Linked DNA regions of Homo sapiens: region 2 is linked to region 1. Evidence: promoter capture Hi-C in human tissues and cell types (Jung and others, 2019). All regions are on one chromosome and are shown on one strand. The core of a region is centred on a gene start or on the middle of the fragment in contact, and the rest is flanking DNA. Distances in the headings are between cores, read along the strand shown.

Evidence for each region. The method cuts DNA at HindIII sites, captures the fragments that hold promoters and counts their contacts. A contact is called where the count stands out against the background at its distance.
Region 2: a contact is called between a fragment that was not itself captured here and the fragment with the promoter of COG3 in region 1, in 2 of the 25 tissues and cell types used here (mesenchymal stem cells and mesendoderm cells).

The regions. Positions count from the first base shown.
Region 1 is chr13:45,462,463-45,466,394 of GRCh38, forward strand. COG3 (component of oligomeric golgi complex 3) reads left to right here and starts at 2,477. Exons shown (of 23, transcript NM_031431.4): 1 at 2,477-2,748. The coding sequence starts at 2,575. The HindIII fragment of the contact is 8,447 bases long and covers 1-3,932 here.
Region 2 is chr13:45,504,899-45,508,927 of GRCh38, forward strand. All of the region lies in intron 14 of COG3 (component of oligomeric golgi complex 3), which reads left to right. Among named protein-coding and RNA genes, the nearest start is that of COG3, 42 kb to the left of the region's middle. The HindIII fragment of the contact is 4,110 bases long and covers 476-4,029 here.

The DNA of each region.
Region 1 (3,932 bases), core at 1,227-3,726:
GTTCATGCCATTCTCCTTCCTCAGCCTCCCGAGTAGCTGGGACTACAGGTGCCTGCCACCACGCCCGGCTAATTTTTGGTATTTTTAGTAGAGACTGGGTTTTACCATGTTAGCCAGGATGGTCTCGATCTCCTGACCCCATGATCCGCCCGCCTCAGCCTTCCAAAGTGCTGGGATTACAGGCGTGAGCAACCACACCCAGCCTCATTTCAACTCTTAAAACTATATTCATGCATATTCTGGATCACCAACATGACAGTTTTATAGTTTAGGATTACCACATGATTTCAGCTTCCACCCTCCTTGTTTGTGCATATAGAATATTTTTAATAAAGCTACTAAAAACAGCAGGGTTGTTTTAATATGCAAATGATATATACAAGCCAGATAAAGGAAAAATGGTATTAGGGATTTACCCTGAGTCAAGTGTTCCCAGTAGTTCAAATGGTGGGGAACACAGCATGCTGCTGGTATAACAGAAGTGTGATGAACTCCCAAGCAGCTGTATAGCAGTAGTCAGGACTGTCTTCGTGTTGCCAGAAGCAATTTCGTTTTCCAGCAAAATAATATCCCACATCTCACTTGAGTTGTTAATGTGAATGTTATTGGTTATATACCGTTATATGTTAGTTATATTTCTGTTGGCATGTAACTTGCATGTCTATTTTGGTATAAACATCCAAAGCTTATGTCAAGTCTTATTTTTGTTCATACTTAAGCAATATAATACAATTATTTACATCAACATTGGGGATCTGCAGATTTTTTAAGGGCTTTGTACAGCAGGCAACTTGGAGAAGCTGTGGTATATAAAGGGTGTCAGACACAGTCAGGATATCTAAGTTCCAGTGGTGACGCTGATGTTAACCACCTGATTGCAGGATGTTAGGCTGCTTGCTTCACCTCTACGGGTTGTAGTTTGCTCCTCTGTAGACAGAAAGGGCTTGATTATATGATTTTAAAATTCTCTTCCAACTTCAAATTCTATTCTTTTTTTTTTTGAGACAGAGTTTAGCTCTTGTTGCCCAGGCTGGAGTGCAATGGTGCAACGTTGGCTCACAGCAACCTCCGCCTCCTGGGTTCAAGCGATTCTCCTGCCTCAGCCTCCCGAGTAGCTGGGATTACAGGCATGCACCTCCACGCGCAGCTAAGTTTTTTTGTATTTTTAGTAGAGACGGGATTTCTCCATGTTGATCAGGCTGGTCTCGAACTCCCGACCTCAGGTAATCCGCCCACCTCGGCTTCCCAGAGTGCTGGGATTACAGGTGTGAGCCACTGCGCCCGGTCTCAAATTCTGCTCTTAAAAGATCAGAGCCTTCATTTGGGAACATAGCCAGGCACTGATTTGTGCTATAAAGCCTGAATAAAGCCTTCAGACTTTACCCAGACAATGGTCAAAATTGCTACGAAGCTGTTTCCACCTGCCTTGACTCCAGGGAGGAGCAGGAAGAGGCCTCCATAACTTGTAGAAGATTGTCTGTTCTCCACCATTTATTTATTCAATCGTTTATTTATAGCAGTATGGACTCATGGGTATTTATTTTATTCTGTAAATTATGATCCAATACTATCATTATTTATTTTGTTGCTCAAATCTACAATATGATTTAAATGGTAGAGTAGAATTACATGTCTGTACCACAAATTATTATTATTATACATTTTGAGACAGTCTCACTTGATGCCCAGGCCGGAATGCAGTGGCAAGATCTCTGCTCACTGCAACGTCCACCTTCCAGGTTCAGGAGATTCTCCTGCCTCAGCCTCTCAGGCTGATTACTGGCATGTGCCACCACGCCTGGCTAATTTTTGTGCTTTTAGTAGAGACGGGGTTCAACCATGTTGGCCAGTCTGGTCTCAAACTCCTGACCTCAGGTGATACGCCCACCTCGGTCTCCCAAAGTGCTGAGATTACAGGCCTGAGCCCCCGCGCCTGGTCTGTGCCACAAATTCTTGATCCAGTTCTTCAATGTTGGACATTTAGGTTGTCTCCAGTTATTTGATACCATTAATGATGTCTGAGATACACACATCTTTGAATTTTTTATGTGTTTCCGTAAATTAGTTTTCTAGTAGGGGAATTACTGGATGTTGGAAAAGTTTATGCTTTTGGTTTTGATCCAAGAGGCATAAATTGTCAACATGCCAACATGGAAATCATACACTCCACACATTCTACCCAGACTACCCAGCTGTAAGCAGAGAGGTGTAGATCCAAGTCTCCTGCCGGCAGGGTGATTTAGCGCAGTTGTCAATAATCTGTACAACACGTAACAATAAAGTTATTGATGTTGAGGAAAAGACTTCCGGTAGGGGCATTTCTATTTCCATTGGGTCCTGTCTTCTCCACCTTCTACGTTTCAACCGGAAATAGTCGTACCCATTTAAAGCCACGTCGGTACTGGCCTCGGTCCCGCCCCCCACACTGCGGAACCGTTTCCGGGGTCAGGGCATTCCGTCCCGCCCCGCCGCCGGTGCAGTGTTGGAAGCTCCGGTTCTCCCGGAAGTGGCCCAGGTCTCTCTGTCGGGGTCCCCTCCATCTCGCTGCTGCTGAAGGCCGCGAGGGCGGCGGCGATGGCGGAGGCGGCGCTGTTGCTGCTGCCTGAGGCGGCGGCGGAGCGGGACGCTAGGGAAAAGCTGGCTCTCTGGGATCGGAGACCGGACACGACGGCGCCGCTGACCGACAGGCAGACGGACTCGGTATTGGAGCTGAAGGCGGCGGCAGAGAACTTGCCGGTGCCAGCTGAGGTGAGGTGATGGGCAGGAACCGGGCCGGGGCGATGGGGCTGGGATTCTCCTCGGGCGCCCCGGCAGGACCCCGGCCTCACTAGCCTCTGCCCAGGATATCTCTCCACTCCTCCCTGGCCATGGTGGCGGATCCGGTGGGAGGGGCCTCATCTCCCAGGCTGTCAGGCTTCGCTCTGCCTGCGACCCCGACTCTAATTCTGCCTGGGGACGGCTGTGGGGGTGTCCTGCAGCTGGTGCTCGCCGGAACCCAGTCCTCCCCCAGCAGCATGGGACGGTTGGCCCGGAGCCTTGCACCGAACGTTTTGCCCCAGACGAGGCGTCCTGTCAGCCGAGGCGTAATCCTGCTGCCCACTCTCTCCCAGAAGGAGAGGCAGTCAACCCGAGGTGCTGTGCTGCAGGACAGTCTCCAGCGCGTGCTCGTTTACCGCCTTAATGATTCACCTAGGTTGCTTTGTCCATGGGGGTCTTGGGGAGACCAAAACTTGGTCCTGAGTGAGTTTCATTTATCGCACATTGAACTATGAGCTCTCAATCAAGTGCAAGTTATGGGAGATCAGATTTATTTCACCTATTGCAAAGCAATAAAAATGAATTTTATTTGAAAGTTGGCTCAGTACATTATTAAGCAGTGCTGGTTTTCGGTGTTAGAGTCAATGTGTTTAATCCACTTACCATTAGGATATTATGCACTACTGCTTCTTGTGTGATTCAATTCAATTAGTTGTAATAGCAGGAAGTAACATGAATTGTCAGATGTTTGACAAACGTTTTCCAGTTTTGAGGGCCAGGTTTAGGAGGATTATTTTATATAAGCAGTGGTGATGGTTACTTTTGATGTTGGAAGCATTCTTTTCTCTCGCTCTGTCGCCCAGGCTGGAGTGCAGTGGCGTGACCTCGGCTCACTGCAACCTCCACCTCCCGGGTTCAAGCGATTCTCCTGTCTCAGCCTCCCGAGTAGCTGGGATCACAGGTGCCTGCCACTACACCCGGCTAATTTTTTGTATTTTTAGTAGAGATGGGGTTTCGCCCTGTTGTCCAGGCTGTTCTCGAACTCCTGACCTCAAGTGATCTGCCCGCCTCGGCCTCCGAAAATGCTGGGATTACAGTCGTGAGCCACCGTGCCTGGCCTGAAGCATTCTTTTTATACGATTTGGAATTGTGTCCAAATGCAGATTGAGTTTAGA
Region 2 (4,029 bases), core at 1,281-3,780, 42 kb after region 1:
AAAACAGGCTGGGTGCAGTGGGTCACGCCTGTAATCCTAGCACTTTGGGAGGCTGAGGTGGGCGGATCACCTGAGGTCAGGAGTTCGAGACCAGCCTGGCCAACATGGTGAAACCCCGTCTCTACTAAAAATACAGAAGTTAGCCAGGCGTGGCTGCATGCGCCTGTAATCCCAGCTATTCGGGAAGCTGAGGCAGGAGAATCTCTTGAACCCAGGAGGTGGAGGTTGCCATGAGCCGAGATTGTGCCACTGTACTCCAGCCTGGGCGACAGAGTGAGACTCCATCTCAGAAAAATAAAAAAAAAAAGGAAAATATCTTATTAGTAATTTTTATATTGATTACATGTTAAAATGATATTTTGGACATATTGGATTGAATAAAATATACTAAAATTAATCCTGCTTCCTTTTTTTTTTTTGAGAGACAGAGTCTCACTCTGTTGCCCAGGCTGGAGTGCAGTGGTGCAGTCTCAGCTCACTGCAACCTCCGCCTCCCGGGTTCAAGCAATTCTCCTGCCTCAGCCTCCTGAGTAGCTGGGACTACAGGTGCACACCAGCACGCCCAGATAATTTTTGTATTTTTTAGTAGAGATGGGGTTTCACTATATGTTGGCCAGGCTGGTCTCGAACTCCTGACCTCAAGTGATCTGCCTGCCTTGGCCTCCTAAAGTGCTGGGATTACAGGCGTGAGCCACTGCGCCTGACCAATCCTGCTTTCTTTTTACTTTTTTTTTTTCTTTCAAAGAGATGAGGTCTCGCTGTGTTGCCCAGGCTGGTTTCGAACTTCTGTGCTCAAGCAATCCTCCTGTTTTGGCCTCCCAAAGTGCTGGGATTACAGGCATGGGCCACCATGCCCAGCCATTTTTTTCTTTTTTAATAGACATGGAGTCTCGCTATGTTGCCCAGGATGGGTCTTGAACTCCTGGGCTCAAGCAGTCCTCCCACCTTGGCCTCCCAAAGTGCTAGAATTACAGATGTGAGCCACTGTGCCTGGCCTCTTTTTACTCTTTTTTTGGAGACAGGGTCTGGTTCTGTCGGGCAGGATGGAGTGCAGTGGCATGATATTGGCTTACTGCAACCTCTGCCTCCTGGGCTTAAAGCCAACCTCCCACCTCAGCCTCCCAAGTAGCTGGGAGTGTAGGCTCATGCCATCACGCCTAGCTAACTTTTCTACTTTTTTAAAATGTGACGTTTTACTGTGTCACATTTATGATTTACATTATATTTCCATTGAACAGCACTGCCGTAGAGCTGTAGAGAGAAAGACTGATTTAGAAATAAAGGATGAGGTGTAGTTGGTGCTTTGGGCTTGTGTAAGATCATCCTAGGACAGATTGTAGAGTGACTGTAGCAGACGTCTTGGGAGAGAAACTGAGCCAGTGCTGACGTTAAGGAGCAAATGGAGATAGAGGAGTAAACTAAGCCCACCAAGAAAGAACAGCCAGCGTGGTCAGAAGTGGGCAAGTGAGAGGGTGTGATTGATGTCAGAGGAGGAGGGGTTGGCAGTGTAGTTTGCGTAAACAGGTGAGAAGATCGAAATCTCAAGAACATTGTAGTTATAAAGTGGCATGCTAAGTTTTAAAACTTTAGAGGTGGAACAGTTGAGAGGAAGAAGGAAGTCTGTGGAAAGTAATAAGAATGCGATTCTGCGAGTATTAAGAAAATCTGCCCCTGGGGTAGGGGTGTGAGGATGGAAGAGAAAGTCTTTGGAGTTGAGAAGGTAAGGATGAACAGCTCGTCATCTGTGCAGTTATCAGTGTTATCACAATGGCGATAGAACTTGGGGTGGAAAGCAAGGCTCTGAGTCAGGTAGGAAGTGGAGCAAAACCAAAAAGAATAGTCATAATCACTTTTCCTGGTTTCCCGGTTCCCTGGTTCCCACCTCTAAAGCTGGAAGTGAGAGAATGAGAAGCCTCTGAAAGGAGGGCTTTAAATGATGTGAAGTTCATGGCATACAAGGAGGTGTCAGGGCAGATTGGTGGAGGGACCCATCTTGTGAAGAGACCAGTTATCAGTACCTTCAAAAAGTACAGCTTTGTTCTGTATGTAGAGCAAGTAAGGGGGAGGTGAGGCCCGTGGAGGACGACGGAGGCAGACGTGCAGGAGGGCTGTGGGAGAAGCCCTGGTCCCGGGGCCTGCTCTGCTCCTCAGGAGTGGCAGCCAGAGGGCACTTGGCTTTTGAGGGTTTGCCCCGGTGAACTAGTATTAGTTACATAGGAAAGGGAAAAAATGAACACAAGCTGACTTCTGGCTTTAAAGTACTTAAACACATTTGTTTGACTAAACTTTTATTTGGGAGAATTCTTTTGGCACTTTATTTTGAAGAAGGGATCCTGCACATACCATATTCCTAAGGAAAACTATAAATATTTCATCTCCTAAATATTCTTTGATGTAATTTGTTTATTCTTTTTCTTTAAGAAACTTAATACAAATTAAATGTTAGTTTAAAGTGAGCTCTTATGGAAGAAATTTAAAAATTATACAAGTTAAATAGGAGTGGTGAGAGAGAGAGAAAAAAAAATTTTACAAGTAGTACTTGTTTTTGGAAAAAAAGCTTACAGAATTGTAAAGTGAAAGTACTGGCCAGGCACGGTGGCTCACACCTGTAATTCCAGCACTTTGGGAGGCCGAGGTGGGCAGATCACCCACGGTCAGGAGTTTGAGACCAGCCTGACTAACATGGCAAAACCCCATCTCTACTAAAAATACAAAAATTAGCTGGGTGTGGTGGCACATGCCTGTAATCCCAGCTACTCGGGAGGCTGAGGCACAAGAATTGCTTGACCCCAATAGGCGGAGGTTGCAGTGAGCTGAGATTGTGCCACTGTACTCCAGCCTGGGCAACAGAGCCAGACTCTGTCTCAGAAAAAAAGAAAAAAAAAAAAAGCCTGGGTGTGGTGGCTCATGCCTGTAATCCCAGCACTTTGGGAGGCTGAGGTGGGTGGATCACTAGGTCAGGAGATCAAGACCATCCTGACCAACATGGTGAAACCCTGTCTCTACTAAAAGTACAGAAAATTAGCCGGGTGTGGTGGCATGAGCCTGTGATCCCAGCTACTCAGGAGGCTGAGGCAGAAGAATCACTTGAACCCAGGAGGTGGAGGTTGCAGTGGGCTGAGATTGCGCCGCTGCACTCCAGCCTAGGTGACAGAGCCTAGGTCCAACCTAAAAAAAAAAAAAAAAAAAAAAAAAAAAAAAGGAAAGAAAGCACTAAGCTTCAACCTTTCTCCCTCATCCCTTTCCCCTCAAATCTGTGCTATACAACCTACAGGCCTTCTTGTAAGAATATGCTGCTATAACCATTTATAAAAAGGAATTAATGTTTGCTCTGTAACTTAATACCAGTGTATCATAGATCTACTTCTATTTTCTTATTATTGAAAACATTCCAAATATACAGAAAAGTTGAAAGAAAGATGAATGATGAACACCCATACCCACAACTTGGATTCAAGACTTAACATTTTATTTTTTATATATATTTTTATATATATATATATATACACACACACACACACACACACATACACATATATATACATATATGTGTATGTGTGTATTTGTATGTGTTGGGGTGTGTGTGTAAATATATATTTTATGAACCATTTTAAATTATTGACGTCATTGACACTTCACCCTTGAGTATTTCAGCATCTCCAAAAAATAACGACATCTTTTACTTAACAATAAACCATTATTGCACTAAAAATTTAATGAGTTTGCTAATGTCCTCTAATGCCTAGTCCATCTTTCAATATCACCTGTTGTCTCAAAGTATTATACCAGCTCCACTTTTCATGGTTCATTTGAAATTTGGTCCCTCGACCCAGAAGTGATTGTACTTCCCTTACAGAGGTGTCTTTGCTCAACCATACTCCCCACCTGCTCTTCCTCACAGTCGCCAGAGTCTGCCTTTTCTGACCTTCCCAGTGGTGGGGGGAAGCCCGCTCTGGTCACCTGGGAATTGGATGTACTAACTAGGCCTGTATGTGATTTGACTCAGAGTGTGGAAGACAGTCTGACAGG